2 separate regions of the Homo sapiens genome follow, and region 2 is linked to region 1. Evidence: promoter capture Hi-C in 16 types of primary human blood cells and fetal thymus (Javierre and others, 2016). All regions are on one chromosome and are shown on one strand. The core of a region is centred on a gene start or on the middle of the fragment in contact, and the rest is flanking DNA. Distances in the headings are between cores, read along the strand shown. Region 1 holds the start of NTN1 (netrin 1). Region 2 overlaps STX8 (syntaxin 8).

Region 1 (6,467 bases), core at 3,020-5,519:
TAAAAAGCTCAACCTTTAATTGTAAATCACCCCTAAATTGTCCTTGCTGTCTTTCTCTTTTACAGAATGATGGAAAAATCACTAAGACTTCAATTAAGACTTTATGGGAACTTCAATCTGATGTTCCCAGCTATATCTACAAGGTATCAGAACATCTATTCAAAAAGGAAACTATAAATAACTTTAACATAGTTGAATTGGCTTTGCTTTTATGAGATGACTGAATAATTGGCAAGATTTAAAGATACTTTAACTACTGGGAATTAAAATAACTTCAGTAAAACCCAGAAAAATATTGTTAGCCAATCATTTGTCATGTAGATTATGTACTTATTAAGCCTAATTAAACTTTTTGAACAAAAACGGTTACTAATTACATTCGTTAATATGTTGATTGCTCAATTTAGCCAATAAAAAAAAAGGTCAATCCAATTTGTGTGCATAGTTAGTGCTTTGGTCAAGAGACAAAATCCCAAACTATAGAGATTATTTCAAGTGCATGACCATCATTATAACAAACGCAGGTTACGTGTCCACATCCAAACTGACGGCAAGACCTGGGGGTGGGTGGTGAATCTGAACAATACCAACGCTAAGGCAAATCTTCAAGCCAGAGAAATTTCACCACCACATCAAGTTTATTCGCCTAAATGTATTCACTTGCATTTGTCCAATTAGACCCTGATGGTGACAAGACAAAGTTATCTTTCATATGCACATACAAACTAAAACTGATAGCAAAACCCTGGGAATCCCTTTAAATGTCAATAAAGGGCTTTTACGCACAAAGGGAAGAAAAGAAAAGAGGAAGGAGGGGGAAAAGAAGAGATGGGAAAAACCAACATTTCCGAGGGAACTGAGCAGATCAAAGGAATTTTATTCTAGAAGACTACTAAGTCGGAGTGTAACTACACTCTCTCTCTCTCTGCGAAATCTTGAAAAGTGTCTTCAGACTGGAAACTAGTTCTGATCCTTAAAAGAAAGGGGACAAACAATTATGTCTGCAAGAGCGGGACACGAGCGTAAAAATGGAGGCCTCCCTTGCAACAGGAGGCGGGAGGCCCGGCGTCTTCAGACCAGGACGCCTGACTGGGCCTCTGCGGCGATCCGGCCCTCCAAGACATGTTTTCCATTCCCTTGCTCAAAACTCTGCATCCACAGTCATGAGGCACAAACTATTCGACAACAACATGACACAATTAATCAGAACCAGACCTCAAAACGTGTGTTTGTGGGGACCAGCAAACTTTGAAATGTGCCTAAGAGGGGCAAAGCAATTGAAGAGCCTCACACTGGCTGTTTGAGATGGGGAGATGGAGAGGAAAAATCTGTACGTTCATAAAGGATGCACACCAAATGGGACATTTACAGACTAAATAATTTTCGCTCAAATAAATGTGGGCTTTGGAGCTTTACTTCCCATACTGAAAAAGTAAGGTGTAGTCTTGCTACCTCCCCTCACCCTTTTTTTCTTTTTATGGGGAGAAACTGATTTCTGAGAGCTTCTGCAGCAGCAAAGTCGTCCAATTCAGAAGCAGAACGTATCCTTTTTTAGCTTCATTTCTGACCCAGCCGTATTCACCCGGTTTTGTCAGATTTCTCTTTCAGGAAATGAAACCCTATTTAAAAAGTGAGAAGCTGGACCCTTAGTTAATTCAAAACTGTTTAATTTCACCAAAGCCTGAAGCTAATAAAAAAAATCTGGTATACTTTTTTAGACCAGAATTGAATTCGTTTAAAATAATTACTGAACGCTCCGTTGTAATCAGCAGATAGTAATTAATTGAAATCACATCATTCTTCTTTTGCTAACACAAACACGCTGTTCAAAAGAGAGACAAAAATAGTTTCAAATCATGAAAAGACAAATGGAGGGCAGGAGTGATACTCGTCGGGTACCGAACTGACCCCAAACTACAAACAGTTCTTTGCCATCTCCCAAGGGATTTGTAGGTGTGGAGTTGGAACTTCCCAGGAACTGGGCCGGGGTCCCCAACCGCGAGCCCAGCTGCAGCCTTGGGAAAGGGGGGTGGGTGCAGGTGAATCCCAGCGTCCAACCCAACGAGGGGGAAGGCAATGAATGTTTGCGTTTGGATCCAGGGTTAGCGGAGACCTATCTGCAAATGTTCTGCCAAACCCCCTCCCGGGAACATTTCTCCTGCTGCTTCTTGGCTTCGCAGAGAGCACTGGGCGCAAATTCGGGCGTCCACCACGAGCGCCACGCGAGCGAGTGGACCTGCTCTGAGCCCTCCCGGGTCCCGGGCATCGGCGAACGCGCCTCCCGCCGTTCCCTCGACCCGCGCTCCTATGAACTCGCCGCTGCGAGGCCCAGCAGCTCCCGCCCGCGGCCCCACCCGCCGCCGGCTCCGCCGCCGCACCCCACTCACCCACGCACTCGTTGGCTTCGCGGGCTGTGGCGCGCTGCCAGGGCCGGTCGTAGTGGAAGGGCTTGCAGCGGTCGCACTCCGGGCCGGCCGTGTTGTGCCTGCAGTCGCACACCAGGCTGTCGTCGCGGTCGCGCACGCAGCGGGCCGCGTGGCCGTTGCACTTGCACCGGCCGCCCACCTGCAGGTCGGACACCGCGTAGAAGTACGAGTCGCGCGCCAGCTCCGAGTCGTCCTCGTTCTCGTCGCCGAACGTGTGCAGGCGGCTGAAGGCCACGCGGATGTCTGTGGCCGTGACCCAGTCCTGCAGCACGGGCGAGTTGTCGAAGTCGTGCGCCGAGGGCCGCCCGTCCAGCGTGCTGAAGGCGATGAGGCCGCCCGAGAGCGGGCGCATGTCGGTGTGCGAGTCGGTGCACACGGCCTCCTGCTCGTTCTGCTTGGTGATGGGCGCGCGGTGCGGCCGGTTGTACATCTTGCGGCACTGCGTGGAGTAGAACTGGAAGGGCACCCACGTGCGCCCGTAGTCCATGGACTTGTAGATGGCCATGGACTCGGGCCGCGGCGAGCAGAACTGCAGGCTCACGTAGGTCACTTCGAACTTCTTGCCGAGGGACAGTGTGAGCGTGACGTTGTGCGGGAACTGCAGGTAGTTCTCGGACTGCCAGCACGTCAGGTTGTGCGGGTTGTTGAGGTCGGTGAGGAAGGCGGGCGGGTGCGCCTTCTTGGGGTCGGACGCGTTGCAGAGGTGGCACGAGCGCAGCCGCTCCTCGCCGCGCTCGCTCACCACGCAGTAGCGCGCCGGGGGCCGGCCGCAGGTGCTGGACACGCGCACGTCCTTGCCGAAGGCCGCATTGACAAAGTCCGGGATGCAGCGGCGCGGGTGGCCGTTCTCGTCCGAGCAGGGATCGGGCTGCGCCGCCTGGCCCGCGAACATGCTGAGCCCGGGCCCGCCGCGCACCGCGCCCACCAGGCACGCCACCGCCGCCAGCGCCGCCAGCGCCTCCCACACTGCGCGCATCATGCTGCGTCCAGCTTGCCCCGGCCCTGCCGCGCCGAGGATCTGTCCGCCTGCCGCAGAAGGCGCCTGCGGAGAGAAGGGAGCTGCGCTCAGCCAGCCCGCCCCGCGCCCTCCAGCTCTCGGCGGGGTGGCGAGCGGAGATGCGGGAGAACGCCCGGCTTCCTGGGCACCCACCCCGCAGCCGACTGCCCGCCTCTCTCCCCCAAAGTCCCGCGGGCGGCGAAGCCGGGGCCCTCCAAGTCCGCACCGCTCGCGCCCCTTCTTCCCCGCCCGGCGGGAGAACGCTCTGCTTCCCCGCCACCGCCGCCCCCACGCCGCCCGAGGGGCATGCCTGAGCCGGTCTCCCCGTCCGCGACCAGCCCCCCTCGCACCCCAAGTTTCGGGCGCAGGAGAGCTGGGGGACCCCGACTCTGCACGGCCCGCGCCCCTTCGTCTCGCAGCCCGGGGTCCCTCTCAGATGCCCCCCGATCGCGTCCCCGCCGGAAAGTCCGCGTTCGGGACTTTACCTCTGGAGGGGGCAAAAGAGAAAGAAAAGTTTGCCTGGCCCCTCCGGGGAGCCCGCGCGCCGGTCGCCGGAGAGCCTCTCGCTCGCTGCTAGCAGGCGCGTCCCGCCTCAGCGCGGGCTTGCCAGCTCCATGCCCGGCGCGGCCGCCGCTGCCCCAGCCCCAGCCCCGGTCCCGGCCCCGCCGCCGCCTCTCTCGCCCGAGTGACTACGCGGCCGCCCGGCTCCCGCCGCTCCCGCCGAGCTCGGAGTGCTGCCCTGCCCGCGCCCGGGGCGCACACACACTCACGCTGGCCGGCGCGCACTCACACACACGCGCGCTCGCCCCCGAAGGCTCCGCCGCCGCCGCCACTCGCGCTGGGAGTGAGGGGCGGAGGGGAGCGCGGGGGCGGGGGGCGGGGCCGCCGGGCGGGGCGCCGGCCAATAACGTCCGCGAGCTGCCGCCAGCTCCGAGCAAAGTTTTCACCCCGGGAAAGAAGAAAGTTAAAGGGAACCGGCCCGGACGCCCGAGAGGGAGAGCACAGGCGGGTGGGAACCCGGGAGCCCGAGAAAGAACAGCAGAGACAAAGAGAAAGCGAGGAGAGCACCCGGGGAAACCCCGGAGAGGGGGCTGGGCCGGGCCAGGCGCGCACCCCGTGGGGGAGGAGGGGCCGCCGGGGACTGTCAGCCTCGCCCGCGCCCCGCGCCGCCCGGAGAGCCTCACGCCCGGGGGAGCGCGCGGGCGGGGGAAGGGGGCCACTTTCTCCCTCCCGGTCCCAGCCAAACACATCTGTGTTTGTTTTCTTTGCTGCGCGGAGGTCGGGCCTTCCTCTAACCCAGCCTGATGGCCCCCGGTGGCACCGCGCACAGGGCTGTGCCCCTGTGGGCACGCAGCCCGGGAGCGTGAGGAAGAGGAGGAGGATGTGACCTCTGCCTGCTCTCCATTTTTGCCCGAAGCCCCCGGGGTCCGGCGAGGAGGGGCTGCTCGCCCGCACTCCCACGGATATCACCGTGCGTGAGCCTGTCTGTCGGGAACGCGGCTTCGTTCTAGCCAAGGGAGCAGTGGTGGGCAGGAGGCTGAAGGGGTAGGAAGCTGGCAGCACCTGGACGCTGGCCACCGCCCCTCCAAGACGGGCCTGCCTGGTCTCAGGCATGGGGACAGCCCAGCCCTCCCCAGATCCCCTGAGGCAGGCGTATCGGTACTTCCTCAACCGCATTTTTAAGGGTGCAAAGCCCTGTAATAGCTCATGGGACCTCCACAGCAGCTTTGCTGTTGTATTAACTCCATTTTGCAGATGAGGAAACTGAGGGTCCCGGGAGCTGAAGAAACTCGCACAAGATCAACCCCCAAGTAAACATCAAAAACAGGAAGAGAAGCCTGGGCTCCTTCCACTGCAGGGCATTCGTCAAATGCATAACCTTGCCGAATGATGGTGTCATGGGGCATCTGCGGGGCCACCCAGCCCCTCCTTGCCTCATTCTCCATCGCCCCAATAAAAAGACTGAGGACAGTGACAGCATCCTTTGGTCATCTTGCAACAGCAGCCAGAGAGCTCTGGGAAAGGAATACACTGGGCCGAGAGTTTGGAACGGAATCTCTGCTCGTTTATTTGTTACTTGTAGATGTGTGGTCCAGTAATAGACCCGGATGAAAAGCCCCAGGTCCTGGTTCCGGCCCAAGGGCTGCCTTGCTGCATTAGCTCCATTAAGTGCCTCAGTTTGTCTTATTGGCATTTTCATAAACCCTGAGAATCTAAGAAGGGGCCTCGGGGCTCGTCTGGCCCAGCTCCGTCTCCTTGGAAGAAGGCCTTCCCCAGCCTCCCAGAGAGACGGCCACCCAAGCCAGCTCTTCCAGGGATGGGAGCTCACCACAGCTCAAGAAAATAAATCCATTCCATTGCAGGACAGCCTGGATTCATCTTCTTACCCCGGGGTAGCAATTTAGCTGTGCCTTCTTGTGCCGTTTACCACACTCTGCACTGTTTATTTATGCCTTACCTCACCTTGTGGCAGAAAGGATTTCAGGTAACTTACAAGGGTACATAAAATATGACACAATAACAAATTAAAAGTGAGGTCAAAGGAAATAAATGAAATGGTTAACCATGGTGACCTGTGAAATCGCAATGGTATACTGAAAGGCAGCATAGCTCTTAGGAGGAAACGCTTCGGAGCCAGGGTACCTGGGTTCAAATTCTGCCTCTGCTGTGTGACTATGGAAAGTCTATGCCTTGGTTTCCTCCATCTGTACAAGGGAGATAATACTTTCTACCCCACTGGGTTGTGAGCATCACGTGAGTTGACACATTTGAATATTATAGCTGATGGGATATAGACATACATATTGCAGGTCTGTAACACATATAAATAGGCTTTCTCATGTATGCAAATGTAAATATGCATAAAACCAGGCACATAGTACATGCATATAGAAATGTTAGCTGTTAGTATGAGGTCGCTTGATCTATACAGAAATTTTAAATCATTTAGAGAACACTTAATTACAGGGAAAGATGTTCATGACATATTATAATATGAAAAAAGCAAATTAAAAACACACAGTATAATGTCATTTTAATTTTTT
Region 2 (6,074 bases), core at 1,334-3,833, 480 kb before region 1:
ATTTTTTGAGACAGTCTCACTCTGTGACCCAGGCTGGAGTGCAGTAGCGAGATCTTGGCTCCCTGCAAGCTCTGCCTCCTGGGTTCACGACATTCTTCTGCCTCAGCCTCCCAAGTAGCTGGGACTACAGGTGCCCGCCACCACGCGCGGCTAATTTTTTGTATTTTTTTAAATAGAGACAGGGTTTCACCATGTTAGCCAGGATGGTCTCAATCTCCTGACCTCGTGATCTGCCCGCCTCGGCCTCCCAAAGTGCTGGTATTACAGGCGTGAGCCAGCACGCCCGGCCTTCATATCTTTTATTCTAAGTAGCATTTTTAAAATATCAATTTCTAATTGTTGCTTGTATATCAAAATACAGTTGATCTTTGTATATTGATCTTGGATCATGCAGCCTTGCCAAAGTCACTAATTTCTGAATGACACTCAGCTCGAGACTCAAAGTGGCCCCTGTGCAGATCTACAGAGTACTCTCTGCAGTCCTCTCTGGTCCTGTGCCCTACATCCTCTAACCACCATGGCCTCTTGGGACTTTTCTCAACTCGAGGAAAATGCTGGGTTCCACCTGTGTTCTCCCATCCCCACACCATGGCTTGGGAACTCTTATGAGGTAGTAATCCGGGGCAGTCTTAGAACTCACCTCATTTGTTTCCCGTCTCTCAGGGATCACTGCCCTTCATTTCCTGATGTCCATGTCTTAAAACTGTTGTTTCGTATATTTACCCTGTTTTGTTTTGTTTTTCCAGTTGTTTCAGTCCAGAAGGAAGTCTGGTGCCTGTCAGTCCATCTTGGGCAGAAGCAGAAATCTGATTCTATTTCGAATTCCCTTTTCACAGTGAAATTATTGAGTCAGTGAAACACCGTGACTCTCTTACATCTTCAGTTTTACATACTTCACCCATTACCATATTTGGAGGAAAGTGAAAAAAATGAAAAACAACACAGCTTTACATGCAGCACAACCATTCGCTCTTCAGGACTCACATTTCCTGAATGGAGCACCTTATAGCTAATACTCATGCATTTTCTGGCATTGTTGCATTTTGCCAAGAAAAGCTGTTTTCAGTCGGGAAGAGTATGCTCGTCCCGGAGAAGGTGCTATTTTCAGGGGTTGCTTTAGGTCAGTGTGAGAGGATGCTCCTCAAAGTGTTTGTCACAGTCTCCAAAACAGAGCTTCCTTATGAAGATTCTCACCCTTGGGAAGCCTGCTGGCCTGTGGGGTGTGGGTGGAGTTTGCGGGGAGCGGCAGCGCAGGTTGCAGGTCAGTTTCTCTCCACTGCTCTTACCTTTGTGTTTTGAAATGCTATGTTCCGGCTGGGCGTGGTGGCTCACGCCGGTAATCCCAGCACTTTGGGAGGCAGAGGCAAGCACATCACAAGGTCAAGAGATCGAGACCATCCTGGCCAACATGGTGAAACCCCATCTCTACTAAAAATACAAAAATTAGCTGGGCGTCCGTGGCGGGCGCCTGTAGTCCCAGCTACTCGGGAGGCTGAGGCAGGAGAATGGCTTGAACTCGGGAGGCGGAGGTTGCAGTGAGCCGAGATTGTGCTACTACACTCCAGCCTGGCGACAGGGCAAGACTGCTTCAAGAAAAAGAAAGAAAGAAATGCCATATTCCTCTTTGCTAGCGAGCTGTTTTTCAAGGACAAATACAAAAAATGGAAGTAATCTTCACACAGAACCCTTATTAGCCTTTTCTCTGCCTCAAGAATCTTGACAATGTGCTGAAGTTGCTATGGCTTTGTTTGCGTCCTTGCCAGGTCCTGCATTAAATGAAAATAAAGAGCCACAAAAGGTCATTTCTGACTTCCTTTAGCCCGTGGAATCCCTTAGCCATTCTGCACTCTAGCTGACCCTTAGAAACTTTGAAAATCATCCCAAAATTACAGTTTACTGGTAGAACATAGACTGAAGGGCAGGGAATGCCTTCCTTGCCTAACCTAGAAGTGAAGCCTCATCGTAACAAATTAGCCAATTTGGCTTCTGTGCCCCTTCAGCTGTAATTTGAAGCATGAAATGGGCATTAGGCAGAAGATGGGTGGGTGATGACAATCACTTAATTGCCTCAAAGATCCCTGAGATAGAAGGAACAAGGGTACTTGTTTCTTGTTTCAAAATGCTTTGGTTATTATACACCCTTGTCCCTGAGTGGGATCGCAGACCTTGGAGAAGTATGAAGTGTCATTCCACCTTCACCCAGGAGGTCTTTCTTGATGGGGTTTCTTCATCAGCTTCATCTAGTCTTATGAATTTTCTATAGATGTTCTTTCTAGACTCTAGCAGGAAATTGTGCAATCGTTCTAGATTTCTGCGTTCTTAGGTCTCTTGGTGTTTGCATGTGAAATGGGGCTGTAGAAGGTGGCTAGCCAGACTCCATTTCACACTGGGGAATCTTAGTAGCTAACCTTTGAACCCTTGCAGTCACAGCTTCACAGAAAACTTTCTTTGAAGATACCCTTTCTTGTAGCTGTCACCTAGACTAGAAGGATTCCTTTCCTAAAATCTTAAAACAAAAATAAAAACATCTATTCTTAAACTTGCTCTGAGTCTTCTAACATAGTGATTAACTTTTTATCTAGCTTGACCTAATTTTTCTTTTCTTTTGTTTTTTTTTTTTGAGATGGTGTCTCACTCTGTCACCCAGGCTGGAGTGCAGTGGTGCGATCTCAACTCAATACAACCTCCATCTCCTGGGTTCAAGTGATTCTCCAGCCTCAGCCTCCCAAGTAGCTGGGACTACAGGTGCATGCCACTGCATCTGGCTAATATTTGTATTTTTAGTAGAGACAGGATTTTGCCATGTTGGCCAGGCTGGTCTCGAACTCCTGACCTCAGATGATCCCCCCCCACCTCAGGCTCCCAAAGTGCTAGGATTACAGGCGTGAGCCACTGCACCTGGGTGACCTGATTTTCTTCTCTTTCATTCCTACCTTCCTTTATTGAGGGAGAGCTCCTTCTGTATGTTAAATGTGAAAGGTTCATTGCTTCTCTGTGGGCACTGGACAACACAACATCAACTACTTTTTTGACTGTGTAAACTCAGAGGGCTCTCTAGTATTGGCCAGGAGTCTTTCTGTCTAGCAGAGACTGTATTCCTTTCTTTTGTAAACCTAGAGGGCCCTCCCTCTGTGGTCATTCATTGATTTAAACAAGTGTTGTACATTTCAGTCCTTGATTTAAATATGTTGGTGCTCCGTGCCACTAGCTGGGCTCAGATCTGGGGCAAAGACATAGAAAAAGAAGAAGTCTCATGTATGTCAAAGACACAGGAAAAGAAGACAGTCATTGGGGTCTGGATCTTGTACTCAATCCAGGGACTGTAGTTGCAGCTCTTAGGGATGTCCCTCTGTTGTATTGTTAAAATATTGATAACTTTTTACTATGGAAAATTTCAAACGTGTAATAGTAGAGAGTGTCAGATAATGACTTTGTCCTACTCATCCTCCAGCCTCAGTGATTGTCAACCCATAGCCAATCTGTTCACATGTATATGCCATCCCGTAACCTACCCATCCTACCCAGCCCCTAGGTTATTTTGGGAGCAAATCCCAGACATCGTATCATTTCATCAGTGGATATTTGAGAATATATATCTGAAATATGTTTGGAAAAGATAAATACTGTTTTGGAAAACTATAGTCACATGCCATTATCATCCTTAAGAAGTTAACAATATTTCCTGAATCTAATCAAATACTCAGCATTCAAGTTTCCCTGATTGTGCTGTGATGTTTTCTTTTAGGTAGTTCAATTCAGGATCTAAATATGGCCCATACATTGCAACTAGTTATGTCTCTTAAGTTTCTTTAATATACAGGTTCTTTTTCCAACTCTTCCTTTTTCTTCTATGCAGTTTCTTCATTGAAACTGCATTTGCCCTTTAGTTTCCCACTATCCAGATCTTGCATTTCTGAATGTCTACAGATAGGAAATATCCAAACACCTAATGGTTTCAAGGGGATTTTTAAAAAATGATTGTATTAGTTTTCTATTGCTGCTTTAATAAATTAGCACAAACTTAGTGACTTAAAACACATTTATGATCTTACAGTTCTGTAGGTGAGTAGTCCAATGCAGGTCCCACAGGGCTCAGATCAAGCAGTTAGCTTGATTCTTTTCTGGAGGCTCATTCTGGAGAATTCGTTCCCTTACTTTTTGTAGCTTCTAGAGGGCTCCCACATCTCTTCTTTCGTCTTCAAAGCCAGTAAGTTATCTCTCTCTGACCCTTCTTCATACTCCCTCTGATGGCAGCTGGGAAAGGTTCTCTGCTTTTCAGGACTCATATGATTATACTGGATCCACCTGGATAATCCAGGCTAATCCCCCGTCTCAGATTTTTAACCTTAATCACATCTGCAAAGTCCCTTTTGCCATGTAAGGGAACATATTCATAGTTTCTGGGGATTAGGATATGGACATCTTAAACATGGGGGATATTATTCTATCTGTAACAATGATCCATCCATTTTTAAAAATTCAAATCATTGTAAAATAGAATAATGACTGATAGAGTGTGGTATGTTACAATTGCCCTCTTGTGATATCATCATGACTTGGGTTATGTGAAAGAGTAGGGCAGATTTTGGCAGTTATGACATGATGGTAGTTTTGTTGGTAAGAAAGTACATGGTGGCTGGGTGTGGTGGCTCACGCCTGTAATCCCAGCACTTTGGGAGGCCGAGGCAGCTGGATCACCTGAGGTCAGGAGTTCGAGACCAGCCTGGCCAACATGGCAAAACCTCGTCTCTACTAAAAATACAAAAATTAGCTGGACATTGTGGTGGATGCCTGTAATCCCAGCCACTGGGGAGGCGGAGACAGGAGAATTGCTTGAACTTGGAAGGTGGAGGTTACAGTGAGCCGAGATCATGCCATTGTACTCCAGCCTGGGCGACAAGAGCGAAACTCTGTCTCAAAAAAAAAAAAAAAAAGAGAAAGAAAAAGAAACTGCATGGTATGGTTTCTTCTTCTTTTTTTCTTTTTGAGACAGGAGTCTTGCTATATTGCCCCTGGCTGGACTTGAACTTCTGGGCTCAAGCAGTCCTCCTGCCTTAGCCTCCCGAATAGCTGAGACTACAGGCGCACACCACCATGCCCATGCATGGTTCTTGATTATTTATATTTTTGCAGTCAGCAGCATTGTGTTTTGATCATTGTCTCTAAGATAGCCATACCACCTTCCCCTTAGAAATGCCTCTTCAGGACTTGGGGAAGCCCAGGTTATGAATGTGATTATTATTACCTCTACAGCATCTCGATTATCTGAATCTTCTGTGTCTTTGGATTGTGTAATGAAAATTTACTGCAGCACTTAAAGATGTGGAGAGAATTGCTAAGCTTATACAAATTATTAGAGGGGAACAGAACTTTTAGTTCTCTTTCTCATGTGCATTAGATGATCATCAGGTTGCTAAATCAGATAATGAGTCAAGTTTGAGATTAAAGAGTGTAATTAGTGTATTTTTCATTCATAATCTATGTCTCTACTAGATAAAGCAATTTTAGGAGTTTAATGACTCTTTTCCTAATGGAAACTGTGGAGGAATTGCCTTTCCTATTTTTAAATGGTTTTATCTTTTAATCCACGTTGACACTCAACCCTCAGTCCTATATATATAGATTATTCATCAGATGCATTTAGAATTTTACTATAACATCAGTCATCCTATAGGAGCACTTGGTTGAGGATGGATTTATCTTGGAGGCCATCCAAGAGGTTGTTATTAAAGACCAAGAGGACCTCATTATAAAGTGATTTTACTATAAAATGGTCCTTGTGAATGATCCCTAAAGACGGCAGGTCATTTGTATAGTTAAAAAAAGTACAGTGTGTCAAACAATGTCACAAAGGGGTTGTTACCTCACACCGTTAGTTTAAATAAATTCCAGATGAATTAAAGAGCTAAGTTTGATGATTTAATTCCATAAAAAGACTTGGAAAAAATATAAGTAAATGTTAATGCGACCTCGAGTAAGACCTTTGTGATTTTTGCTTTTGTAGATAAGCCTTTATGTGAAACAGTCATTTCAAAAACCCTGTAGACAAATGAAGCTGCGAGGGGTACAATGTT

What was found. The method cuts DNA at HindIII sites, captures the fragments that hold promoters and counts their contacts. A CHiCAGO score of 5 or more calls a contact.
Region 2: a fragment that was not itself captured here is called in contact with the fragment with the promoter of NTN1 in region 1 in 1 of 17 cell types (endothelial precursors); the score reaches 5.3 in endothelial precursors.

The regions. Positions count from the first base shown.
Region 1 is chr17:9,019,312-9,025,778 of GRCh38, reverse strand. NTN1 (netrin 1) reads right to left here and starts at 4,269. Exons shown (of 7, transcript NM_004822.3): 1 at 4,194-4,269; 2 at 2,388-3,468. The coding sequence starts at 3,405. RefSeq lists silencers at 4,018-4,807, 4,858-4,907 and an enhancer at 4,328-4,871. The HindIII fragment of the contact is 7,248 bases long and covers 1-6,467 here.
Region 2 is chr17:9,494,936-9,501,009 of GRCh38, reverse strand. The region is part of intron 5 of STX8 (syntaxin 8); the gene reads left to right. Among named protein-coding and RNA genes, the nearest start is that of STX8, 78 kb to the left of the region's middle. The HindIII fragment of the contact is 5,519 bases long and covers 1-5,342 here.